Linked DNA regions of Homo sapiens: regions 1, 3 and 4 are each linked to region 2. The links are contacts of gene promoters, found by promoter capture Hi-C in human tissues and cell types (Jung and others, 2019). All regions are on one chromosome and are shown on one strand. The core of a region is centred on a gene start or on the middle of the fragment in contact, and the rest is flanking DNA. Distances in the headings are between cores, read along the strand shown. Region 1 overlaps LOC124904475 (a long non-coding RNA gene). Region 2 holds the start of B3GALT2 (beta-1,3-galactosyltransferase 2). Region 3 overlaps LOC124904475 (a long non-coding RNA gene). Region 4 overlaps LOC124904475 (a long non-coding RNA gene).

Region 1 (3,167 bases), core at 80-2,579, 300 kb before region 2:
ATGACAATATATGCATGAGTTTATTTCTGGGATCGCTATTCTGTCCCATTGGTCTATGTGTCTGTTTTTACTCTGGTACCATATTGTTTTGATTACTACAGTTTTGTAATATAATTTGAAGTCAGGAAGTATGATGCCTATAGCTTTGTTCTTGCTCAAGATTGTGTTACCTATTCCAGGTCTTTTGTGGTTCCATATGAATTTTAGAATTGTTTTTTATATTTCTGTAAAAAATTCCATTGGAATTCTGACAGGGATTGCACTGAATATGTAGATTGCTTTGGGCAGCACGGACACATACAAATGACCAACAGGTAAATGAAAAGTTGCTCAACATTACTAATTATCAGGGATAAGCAGAGAAAAATCACAATGAGATACCACCTCACATATGATGGCTATTATCAAAGTCAAAAGATAGGTGTTAAGGATGTAAAGAAAAGGGAACCCTTATACATTGTTGGTGGAAATGTAAATTGGTTCAGTCATTATGGAAAACAGTATGAAGATTCATTGAAAAATTAAAATGCAACTAACATATGATCCAGCAATCCCACTTCTTGGTATATAATCACGCATGACTTAACAACAGAAATACATTGAGATGTGCTTCCTTAGACAATTTTGTCACATGAATGTCATTGAGTATGCTTACACAAACCTAGATTCTATAGGCTACTACACACCTAGGCTGCAGACCTGAATAGCATGTTACTGTAAAAAATACTGTAGGCAATCACAACATAATGGTAAGCGTTTGTGTATCTAAACATATTTAAACATAGAGAAGGTACCATAAACATGTGGTATGATTTTATGGGACCATCATCATATGTGCATCATATACATAAAAGAAATAAAATCACTATCTCAAAGATAATTCACATTCATTACAGCACATTCATTACAGCACTATTTGCAACAGCCAAGATATGGAAACAACCCAAGTATCCATCAGTGAATGCATGGATAAATTGTGGTGTGTATACACAATTTGCCTATGCATTCGTTGATGGATACTTGGGTTGTTTCCATATCTTCCACATGTAAGTCTATGATATATGTCTCTCATATATACATACACAAAATAGGATACGTATATTTTGTGTATACACAAATTATTCAACCTTTAAAAAGCAAACAATTTTCGGCCAGGTGCAGTGGCTCATGCCTGTAATTCCAGCACTTTGGGAAGCCTAGGCGGGCAGATCACGAGGTCAGGAGATCGAGACCATCCTGGCTAACACGATGAAACCCCGTCTCTACTGAAAATACAAAAAATTAGCCGGGCATGGTGGTGGGCGCCTGTAGTCCCAGCTACTCGGGAGGCTGAGGCAGGAGAATGGCATGAACCCGGGAGGCAGACCTTGCAGTGAGCCAAGATCACGCCACTGTACTCCAGCCTGGGTGACAGAGTGAGACTCCATCTCAAAAAAAAAAAAAAAAAAAAAAAGAAGAAACAATTTTCATTTGTAACATGGATGAACCTGAAGAATATTATGCAAAGTGACATAAGCCAAACACAGAAAGACATATTGCATGATTCATTTATATGTGAATTCTTAAAAAGTTGAACTCATAGATATAGCATAGAAGGTCAGGGAGGGAGATGTTGGTCAAAGAATACAAACTTGTAGTTATAAGACCATGCTAGTGTGAATACTGCTGCGATGAACATACATGTGCATGTGTCTTTAAAATAGAATGATTTATATTACTTTGGGTACTTACCCAGTAATGCGATTGCTAGGTCAAATATTTCTGGATGGGCTAAAGAAAATGTGGTACAGATATACCAGGGGATATCATGCAACCATGAAAAAGGAAAAGATTAAGTCCTTTACAGGGATACGGATGGAGCTGGAGGCCACTATTCTTAGCAAACTAATACAGGAAAAAAAATACCGCATGTTCTCACTCCTAAGTGGGAGCTAAATGACGAGAACACACGTGCACAGAGGGGAATCACACACTGGGGCCTTTCAGAGGGAGAGCATCAGGAAAAAATCATTAATGGGTACTGGGCTTAATATCTGGGTGATGAAATAATCTGTACAATAAACCCCCATGACACAAGTTTATCTGTGTAACAACCTGCACTTGTACCCCTGAACTTAAAAGTTAAAAAAAATTAAAAACAAAATTTGACTAATATAAAAAGACTAATATGCTCTGGAGGCCTAATGTATAGCATGGTGACTGTAGTTAACCTATACTTTAAATGTGATGAGATATGAGAGCAGTTCTCATCACAAAAAAAAGGTAACTGAAGTGAATATGTTAATTTGATTGTAGGAGCTAAAATATTTTATATGTATAATATGTAGAAAGTTATTTTACTCTTATCAGGTAAATAAGCAACAAATCTAAGATTAACTTATTCTATTATTTGAAGGTCACTACAGTTCCAGTAACTTTACCAGGCAAACAATGAAATAACTTAAGAGAAGTTGTCTGTTTGGATAAAGTGAATATAGCCATGCCTAAATACAGTACTACCTATTAAACGCATTCCTCAAGGCATATGAAGCTTATTCTAATAAGTTTATAATTCTAGGTTATAATTATGTATATTTAATGTACTCGGTTCATTCTCAACTAATTTGTAGTTCATGATCTAAACAGGCAAGAAGCCCTTAGAACACATTAAACACATTGTACCCACCTCCATGGCAAAAGGAGTGAGTGCTTGTACATGTCTCTCCCTACAAGTCCTCCCTCCCACCAGAAGACAAACGGAAAGCTGCTCCAACTCCAAGGAGCTTTCAGAGGTGACCTTGTTAGAACAGGGATTTAGAACCCCCACCCCCACCACACAATGTTTCATCTCTTTCACACAGAGAGACTTACAGGTGAGCATCCATGTCTGAAGAAAGTTTCCAAAGCCAAAACGGGTTCATAAGCACTTCAGGTGGCATAGTCAACTGTTCGCTGAGCATTACTACTTCCATCGTTTCCTTCACCCTTTGTTTCCTTTTACCCCCTCCTCTCCTCACCATAAACTGGAGTCAGGTAATTACACTTAGAGATAAATCAAATGCCTGACCCTCAAGTCCTCTGCCCTTCTCCCTCTACCAGGATGGCTTGCTGCTCTATCTTACTACCTGCCTGGATGGCAGACTTGCATTTCCGAGGTCACAATTCTTATTCATAGTGAGAAAATTCAA
Region 2 (3,221 bases), core at 379-2,878:
TCTTTTAAGTGGGTATTACAATAATAAAATTATTAGAAAAGAGCCATTTGCATAACAGCTCAAGTAAGCTTAGCACGCAATCTGATTTTCAGTAAATACTCCATAAATGGTCATTGTGGCTAGCTTCATAGTCAAATCCTATGTAAAGAATCACTGATAAATAAATACTGATCTACAAAAACACATCTGTACTTCTGGAAAATAAGTTATTTTAAGTAAGTTCTTAAGCATTACTCTGTTAACTAGTAAACTAATTTTAAAAACAAAACGGTAGTGAGTGAGAATTGCAGTATGGGTGGATATAGACTACAAGGAAGTTGGGTTTTAGTCCTCTCCTTCAAACTTAACTAGGAAAAGTCAAAGCTCAGTCTAGGCTTTAGGTTTCCTATTTATAAAATTCTTTTTTTTCTTTAACGATCCTTCTAACATTTCTAATACAGTGGGGTTCTTAAAACTACAAAGCACATTTCATCAGCAAAGCTCAAAAATATGTGGACAAAATTTTTTTTAATATCAGAGAAAACAAATTCATATTCATTTGAAATAGCATATATTAATGGTGGAGGCAGTGAGATGAAGAATATGTATATAACTGTTAACCTTTAGCTTAAGCTCCAAAACTATAACTTTCTAGGACTGAATTACTGTCCCTAGAGTCACAGAGGAAAAACTGATAATAAAGGCTTTTTACTACAACAAAAAATTTAAAAAAACCTTCCCTACTGCTCTGCAGTAAGAAAAGAAGGTGCCAGCCCCAGAAACTAACCATATTAGAAAAATCTCAGTGAGTGTGTAGTGTTAATAAAATCTGCCTCATGGCAAGTTATTAAATCTTTCTGAAACATTAGAATAAGTAAACATAATTAGTAAAATCTCATTACCCCCAGATCCTGTACAAGTGTGCTATATCTATTACATCATTTTACTGAATTCTACGATACATGTAATTTTAAAGGGAAGGAAAAATAAATAAAAAATAAATGACAACATTAAAAAGTGATTTAAAATAAAGTTTTCTGCCATCAAGAACACCAAAAACCACATAAGAGCAAAAAAGAAGTGGGCTGTATCACATCATGCATTAGTAAAGTAATCCAAGACAGCTTATTTATACAAACCCCAGAAAACGGGGGGGGGGATCTAAATTACAAAGATACATGGTTTCAATAGAAACCATAGGTCTTAACTACATATTAGTAAAAAATCAAGAGCAATTTGAAAGCAGAGAAAAAAAACTTCAAGAAGAGAATGCACTGAAGGGGTTAAATTACACCAACTTACACACAAAAGCTTATACTGCTTACACCCTACAAAAGCATGTAAGAAACATGAAAACCAACATCTAACACAGAAAACACTTAGAAAGCCTGTACTTAAGAATAAAGTTAAAAAAGGAAGTAAGCTGGAAAAAATAAAATCATAACCATTTCATAATCATCACATTTTCAAATTATTCACTCATCACTACACTTGCATTCAACATATATAATTTATCACATAAAAGCAAAATCTCTAAGCTTCTCCCTACCTTAGGTTTTTAGTCAAAATGAATGCAAACAATCACGTGGGATTCAGCCAAGCAGTGACGTTAAATTCTGCTCTGTCAGAGAGAGCATCTGTCAAGCCCACATTTAAACTGCTGCCTGCCTGTGCAGCAGCTGAGGAACCGTGGATTTCATATTATAGACTAAAACCCCATTAAAACTGCTCAAAATCCTTCCTGCAGCTGCCAGGCAACAACGAAAGAAGAGAGGTAAATCCTATTCTTTTCCAATACAACTGAAGCACTACATTTTAGCTCTGGCTGCTTTACATTGCAGCTCAGTGTTATTAGTAGAAATATGGATACTGAGACGAGAACACAGCACTGCATTGTCCAGCCAGGAAAATAGCAGATGTAAAAAGCTTCAATGCATCAACTGTCGGGAAGAGTCAACAGTGCTACAAGCAGAACGGGCAACTACAGCTCTTTTGTTTAACGAAAGAGAGAAAATGAAAGAAAGGGAAAATTTCAGAAGACTAGGACCCATATGAACAAGGAGGGTAACTCGAAGACAAGCAGACAGATGGACACTTTGGATACTGTGAAAAGCAATCGCAGGAGGCAGACTGTTGGGGGATGTGCGCATGTTCGATAGCATCTTTTTTGCTGAAGTGATGGCGTGCCAAAAGTATTTTCAGTGGGCATAATCCTCTTCACATAAATGGCCTGACCAAGGAAGGTATGTCAATATCTTGTGTATGATAGTCATTTAAATGTGTTACCTTTTTATAGCCCTGGAGGCACTAATACCTGATAAGCAAGTTCATACAGCTCACTGCCCTTGAAACTATGAAAAGGTTTCTTAATATCTGATTTTAAAATTTGTCATTGTTTAGAAGACAAGCTGTCACTGCTTTATGCAGCTAAATATGTAGCTTGGAGTAATTCTGGGTAATAGACATCAGAGGGAAAAGGCAAATAAGAAGAAGATGTGTTTAAAGGATTCCTTAAGAAATTAAACTTAAAAAAAAATCTGTAGCCCTTTACAAAAAACACAGCAATATTCTATCAAATTAGGTCAAACTGAATCCTTATCTAGTAAATTAAATGCTCTCTTAAAAATGGCTATCAAAAGACACAATGCAGTGAAATTTCATTAAATAGTAGCAAGGAAAACCTTAAGAGTTTTTTTTTCAAAGTCCTTTTAAAACAAAACCTTAATATGTAACAGCTTTTAGTAACAAAATCTTCCCCAACATCTCCCTAAATGAAGATAATGAACACAACCAAAGAGAGTATCAACAAATTTTAAATATTACCAAGCTACAAGAAGATACTAAAAGGAAAGCATTAACATAAGATCACATAAGGTAGTGTGAGTTTATGCATAACCCCACAATAGAGCCTCGTGTTATTATAGTGACCATGAATAGAACTTTAAACAAAGGGACATCAATAGTGGCTTTAAAAATTAACTATTTTAAATAGCTTACATTTTATGTAAAAGACTGATTCCAAATGATCAAATTTAACGTTGTCTCTGATTATCATTTCAGAAGTGAAATTCAAAAACATAATATGGAAATACTTTGATACAAAAATATCCACAAATGGCAATACAAGGTCAAAAAATTAAATATAAATGTAGCTACTATGCTTCCAGGCTATATTAATATGCAGTAATGAACTACCGCCACTATATGTGTGTGCAGGGCACAGATAAACCAAATAAACTATT
Region 3 (3,241 bases), core at 144-2,643, 510 kb before region 2:
GAGATCCACAAGGTGAGTCAGCAAGCTGGAGACCCAGAAGAGCTAATGGTTTAGTTCCAGTCTGAGTACAGAACAGTTCCAGTTCAAAGGCCAGTAGCCTTGAGACCCAGGAGGAGCTGGCATTTCTGTTGAGTCAGAAGTCTGGCAAAACAATAGATATCCTAATTTGAAAGCCTCCAGGCAGGAAAAGTTCTCCCTTACTCCTGGGCGGGACAGCCTTTTGTTCTCTTCCTGCCTTCAACTGACTGGATTAGGCCCACCTATATGACAGGGCAATCTACTTTACTCAGTCTGTAAATGTTAATCTCATCAAAAAAGTCTCAGAAACACCAAGAATAATGCTTGAAAAAATACCTGGGAACCCTGTGGTTCAGTCAAGTTCATCCATAAAATTAACCATCACTCTTGATAAGTAAGCTACTTTAGTTGATTCACGTTGTGATCGTCCAGGAGTTAGTGGCTAAGTTATGTTTGCTTGTTGTCAGTACAGTTTCACATAGGAACCATGTGTCCTGGTATGGGTTAATTATTTTGGCCTCGGTTTCCAAACTTTTATCTTACTTTCTGTTAGAATTTCATGTTTAAAAAGAAAGGTCCTTAAGCCAATGCAGTCAAATTTCCTAACCAAGAAATCTAATAGTTACCTTATAACTAACAAATTTGACATTACACTGCTAAATACGAAAACTACATGAACAGCTTGAGCATATCCAGATAAACAATATTTTCACATAGTACATGCAGAGAGTTGAGGAAATATTTTGGAGTTTAAAATATCTAGATAGTTATCTCAGTCCCCATCTGATAGTGAAGATGCACCCTTATTTCTTTGCCACAGTTGATCTCCATAGTGCAAACAGAGTAAAGTTTGGGAATTTCCCAAATAATATGATCAAAATAAAACTTCTGGTAAAACAATTCAGGTGCTAAAGGAGAACTTCTGTTTTGAGAAAAGTAACTGGAGTGATCACCAAATCTCTATTGCTACAGATCAAGCATGGCACACTACAATCCTGGTAGTTCATGGGAACACAGCCACTCCATTTATATATTGTCTCTGCTTGCTTCTGCCCAACAACAGTGCCAAAGTTGAAACACTGCAACAGAGACTCTATGACCTAGAAGGCCTAAAATATTTACTATCTGGCCCTTAATAGAAATACTGCCAGTCTCTGATGTAGTTAGATAAATTTATACACAGTTTTACGCAGAACCAAGCTAAATATTAATCCTATAAAAAACATTTCTCACCGACTTACAATCTTTTACAAAAATGCTTTTTCTTCTTAAATATCATTTTATCCTTTTTTCACGTTTATTTTATATATAATTTTCCATCAAGATTCTAAGCTCACTTAGTCTTCTAGGTTTCCTCAATGAAAAAAAAAAAAAAATCATTACAGCCCAATAAATGTGAAGTAACAATGACAAAGAGTTTAGTATATGTAACATAAAAATAATACATGACACTTAGCTGTAATATATCTAAAAGCATCTTAACATCACCATACGTTTGCTCTCATGTACTGTACTTTGGAGCCATTATAACATAATTGTTAGAGATAAATATTTGTCCCCCAAGTGCTAATTTATTGATGGACTCCTAACTTGCTCTCATCATGACAAAGCACCAGCTCAATCACTGAATGAATATTTATCTATGATGAATATTCATTTAATCCATGTCTTTACAAGGAGTTTCACCACTGACAAGGCAATAAACAAGCTTTTTTATGTCCGTTTTATTCTGGGTTCACTTGCTCTCTCCATTGCTATGGCTTTAGCAAGGTAAATTCTGTATGTTTGTGGCTTAATCTGGGAAATGTTAGTCTAATCTGTGTCCTACATTAGCTCTCTTAAACACAATATATAACCTCAAGAGCAGTGATTAATTAGTTCACAGATTTGCCATCTGCTTCACTCAAGCCCAACAAGGTGAGAAGAGACAAATTTGGACTAAAGAAAATGAATGTTAATGAGGTTGTGATTCTACCCTTTGAAACAAAAACAGAGGGTAAGCCTTCCATATGAGTAAGTGGTGTGCTGGTAAACATTTAATAACTGCGTTATTTCCCCAGGTTTATTGAGGTATAATTTAAAATTTAAAATTCTACATACTTAAGGTACACGGCTTGATGTTTACATATATACATAGGTGTAAAGTAATCATTGGGATCAAGCTAATTAGCATATCTATCACCTCACAAACATACTATTTTGGGTATATATATGTACGTATAGCAAGAACATTTAAGATTTACTTTCAGCAAATTTTAACTACACAATACAGTAATAACTCCAGTCAGCATGCTGTACATTAGGTCTCAGAACTTATTCATCCTGCATAGCTGAAACTTTGTATCCTTTGACCAACATCTCCCATTCCCAAAAACCTCAGCCCCTGGCAACCACCATTCTACTCTCTGCTTCCATGAGTTCAACTTTTTTAGATTACATGTATAAGTGAGATCATGCAGTATTTGTCTTGCTGTAACTGGCTTATTTCACTTAACATAATGCCATTTGGCTCCACTCATGTTGTTTTAAGTGACTGGATTTCCTTCTTTTTATAGGCTAATGCTCCATTGTGTATATACACCACATTTTCTTTATGTATTCATCCACTGGCAAACACTTAGGTTGTTTCTAGATCTTGGCTACTGTGAATAACGCTACAATGAACATGGGAGTGCAGATCTCTCTTTGGGGTACTGATTTTATTTTCCTTAGTTATGTATACAGAGTGGGATTGTTAGATCATAGGGTAGTTCTATTTTTAATTTTTTATGGAACTTCCATAGTTTTTTCCATAATGGCTATGTCAATTTACATTTCTACCCACTGTGTACAAGGGTTCCCTTTTCTCCAACCCCTCTCCAAGACTTATCTTTTTTATAAATAATAGTCATTCTGATGACTGCCTTTTGAAGTTTCAAAGTGGGTACATAAATGCAGTGCTTGTCTATTTTTGAAGTGTAAATACTCCCAAGGTGGATTTCAAGCTATCAAACTGATGTCACTGAATGCAGTGTTGCAAAGAGATGTGCAGAACACTATGATATAGTTTCTCCTTTATACAGATACATGTAAATAAACTCAAGAGCATAGAGAAGAGCAAACCATAGTAAAATAATTAGGAGGTGATCTATTTTGAATCTATTACTTTTCTTAAATTTATTTAATTGTAAGTTTATTAACTTTTAATAATGACTATATTTAACCAGATCATAAAATTCCTGAA
Region 4 (3,279 bases), core at 169-2,668, 490 kb before region 2:
AATTCAAGATGAGATTTGGGTAGGGACACAGAGCCAAACCATATCAAACACCTATATGTAAACTTATTTCACCCATGTCTTTCCAAATAATAAAGTGCAAGTCAATATTTCTTTAAGAGCAACAGATGGAATTTACTTGTGCCAACAAATTCAGGCTTTGCAAAGACTTCATAAAGATGCAAAAGCTTCAAAAAAAATTTCCCACTGTGTAAATATCAAGTATTTTTCTTTACCAATTCTTTAATACACCAAGGATGTATTGTTGTTCCCAAGACACACACATTTGTACATACACATATCCTGCACCTGGCACACTGGAATAATGTCAAATGTGTTTACTTCAATAATTACCTTCAAACAAACACATGTAGTGATTTTATCTGAATGTCAGCTCCCACATGGCACTTTCCTTGTCTAGCTAAGGCCTTGAGGAAGTAAATTAATGGATCAAAACCTGGGAAAACTCTAATCTAGCCCTTGAAACATAGAAATCGGGAATTTTAAGATTTCCCCAGAGGTATTACTATTCTTTTCAAATAACACTCCTAAGGAAAAGGCAGTTAAATCATTCAAGGAAACTTGGTCATTAGAAATGACAACATACCACATACCCATAAACCAGTAGAAAGTTATTACTAAGGTGGAAATAATGGCTTTTGTAATTTTTTATACATATCAAAGATGAAGAAGCATATATGATATAATAGCATATTTCTCCTTTCTAGAACAGTGGTTCTCAACTTTGGCTGTATCTTGTATCTCAGGATCTCTGCAAAATACAGATGACTAGGACCTCTCCCAGATATTCTGATTTAATCAGTCTTTAGTGTGGCTTTGGCATCCTGCATTTTTTATAGACTCCCAGGGATTTCTTATGTCTAGGAAAGATTGACAATTATTGGTCTAGAAGAAATAGTTATGTGGACATTGTGACCTTATGCACTACAGGGTCATTAACTATTATACTTGGAGGTCAGAAGTAATGTGGAAAGCTGGTTGATAAGTTCTTATAAGTAATCATCGCAACCAATGAGTGATTACTATTTTGAAGTTCTCATTCAGGTTTTCTTTAAGAGTTTGAATGATATGGGCTCTCTTAATTTTGTTACAAATGTAAACATATACAGCATAGCCAGGCAAACCTATGAGTTAGTTAACACCTTGCCATGACTCCCCAAGAATTACATGCTCTACTCAGTACAGTCCAGCAGCAGTTCCCCTAGCAATCAAGTCACTTCATGACTCCATGCCTTTACACAAACTGTTCTCTATAGACTAGCAATCTAAGTTTTTGAAGTAATTGTGAATGTATGTGTTTCTTACTAGTTAACATTTACTAGCATTTGTTTTTGTTGTTATTGTAAATTGTACTTGCGTTAGCCAGGATACATCCTTAAATTCAATTGCAGGGGTGGGAGGAGTTGCACGGGATAGAACATAGGCTGACACAGACTCCAGCAAACTGTAACTGCACCACCTGGATGATGGAACCTCCTCCGACCTTCCAGGAGGTAGACAGCTGACAATTCAGGTACTATTCTCTGCTTTAGTGTCTAGGTAGTAGATATCACTTCTTTTCACAGCTTATTGGCCAAAACAAGCCAAATAGCCCAAACTATCTGCAGTGGGCTGGAAGTATGTGAAAGTAGATTCGGTACTTTAACCAACTGAGCATCAGCACATTGATTAGTTTGTGATGCCTTCACAAGACCAGAAGGAAGGATTCTGCATGTGTTACATGGCTCATAATTATTAAGAAAAAGCTGGAAGAGATTTGTTTTTTAATTAGATCAACCAGTACTATAATTCATCTGTAGCTCTCTATGTGCCATAATTCCAACCACTGAAAGAGATATTGTTTGAGGCAACAATATAATAAAATTAACAGACATTTGGATGATTACAAAATTATCTATCATTACAATATTATGTTAAGAGGGCTCAGTTAGCCAGTAGCTTCATATACTGCACCTCTAAACCCATTTCATCTAGCTCATGCCTAGCATCTGATAACAATAGCAGACTTTGGCTGTACCATTATAAATCCCTCAGTATCATTATCTGACAACTTAAAGTACATGCTCTACTATAAGTCATTTTTGCTTACGAGGACACTCACACTCACTGATCTAGTTACTTTATTGTCAATCTTCATTTTAAAAATTACCAAAAAAAGTTCATTCCACATGGAACACTATGCAGCCATAAAAAAGGATGAGGTCATGTCCTTTGCAGGGACATGGATGAAGCTGGAAGCCATCATTCTCAGCAAACTATCACAAAGACAGAAAACAAAACATTGCATGTTCTCACTCATAGGTGGGAATTGCACAATGAGAACTCAAGGACACAGGGCAGGGAACATCACACACCAGGGTCTGTCGTAGGGTGAGGGGCTGGGGGAGGGACAGCATTAGGAGAAATACCTAATGTAAATGACCAGTTAATGGGTACAGTAAGCCAACATGGCATATGTATACCTATGTAACAAACCTGCATATTGTAAATAAATAAAATAAATAAATAAATAAATAAATGGAAAAAAGTTAATTCCAGAGGCTTTCATTATTCATTCATTACTTTGCTTACCTTTTGGGGCTACTTTTGACAGCAGAAAAAGTACTTCAAAAATAAAAATAGTATTTCCCTTTCTGCAATATGTCCATAAAATAGAAAAATCTATGTTTATTGCATGCCTACAGTATACAATTTGCTTCTAAATCATTAAATCCAATAAAACATTTCTTCAAAGTAAATAGTTTTGAGATTAACATATTTCAGTATTTTAAAACCACCTCAGTTCTTCACTGCAAACAGAATTAAACAGTTATATGAAACAAGATACCATAAGTTTTCCTGTGTAGGTATTTAGATTAGCCATTGAGACTACTGTGATAGCAAATCTTTCTCTCTTTTTGACATATATATTTTTAAAGATATTTTGTTGTGATATCACTTAGTTGATGTACATCTAGATAATTTCATTGTGTTTTCACAATGTAGAAGTATTTTTAAATAATCAAGGATGCTACTTATAAGAAAAATAATTTCTAATTCTCACTTATTTGTAGAATCTAAAAATCAAAACAATTGAATTTGTGGAGATAGACAGTAGAAGGATGGTTACAAGAGACTGGGAAGGGTAGTGGGGAGGTGGGATGGGGAGATGGGAATAGTTAATGCGTACAAAAAAATATAAAGAATGAATAAGACCTGGTATTTGACAACACAAAAGAGTGAATATATTCAATAACATATAAAATATATTCAATAATAATT

The links. The method cuts DNA at HindIII sites, captures the fragments that hold promoters and counts their contacts. A contact is called where the count stands out against the background at its distance.
Region 1: a contact is called between a fragment that was not itself captured here and the fragment with the promoter of B3GALT2 in region 2, in 1 of the 25 tissues and cell types used here (mesenchymal stem cells).
Region 3: a contact is called between a fragment that was not itself captured here and the fragment with the promoter of B3GALT2 in region 2, in 1 of the 25 tissues and cell types used here (H1 embryonic stem cells).
Region 4: a fragment that was not itself captured here is called in contact with the fragment with the promoter of B3GALT2 in region 2 in 1 of the 25 tissues and cell types used here (mesenchymal stem cells).

The regions. Positions count from the first base shown.
Region 1 is chr1:193,482,475-193,485,641 of GRCh38, reverse strand. The region is part of intron 3 of LOC124904475 (a long non-coding RNA gene); the gene reads right to left. Among named protein-coding and RNA genes, the nearest start is that of LINC01031, 180 kb to the right of the region's middle. The HindIII fragment of the contact is 3,425 bases long and covers 1-3,041 here.
Region 2 is chr1:193,185,020-193,188,240 of GRCh38, reverse strand. It overlaps B3GALT2 (beta-1,3-galactosyltransferase 2), which reads left to right and starts at 1,628. Exons shown (of 2, transcript NM_003783.3): 1 at 1,628-2,222. The region is part of intron 10 of CDC73 (cell division cycle 73); the gene reads right to left. The HindIII fragment of the contact is 2,577 bases long and covers 680-3,221 here.
Region 3 is chr1:193,694,237-193,697,477 of GRCh38, reverse strand. All of the region lies in intron 3 of LOC124904475 (a long non-coding RNA gene), which reads right to left. Among named protein-coding and RNA genes, the nearest start is that of LINC01031, 390 kb to the right of the region's middle. The HindIII fragment of the contact is 5,530 bases long and covers 1-3,241 here.
Region 4 is chr1:193,669,792-193,673,070 of GRCh38, reverse strand. All of the region lies in intron 3 of LOC124904475 (a long non-coding RNA gene), which reads right to left. Among named protein-coding and RNA genes, the nearest start is that of LINC01031, 370 kb to the right of the region's middle. The HindIII fragment of the contact is 3,906 bases long and covers 1-3,279 here.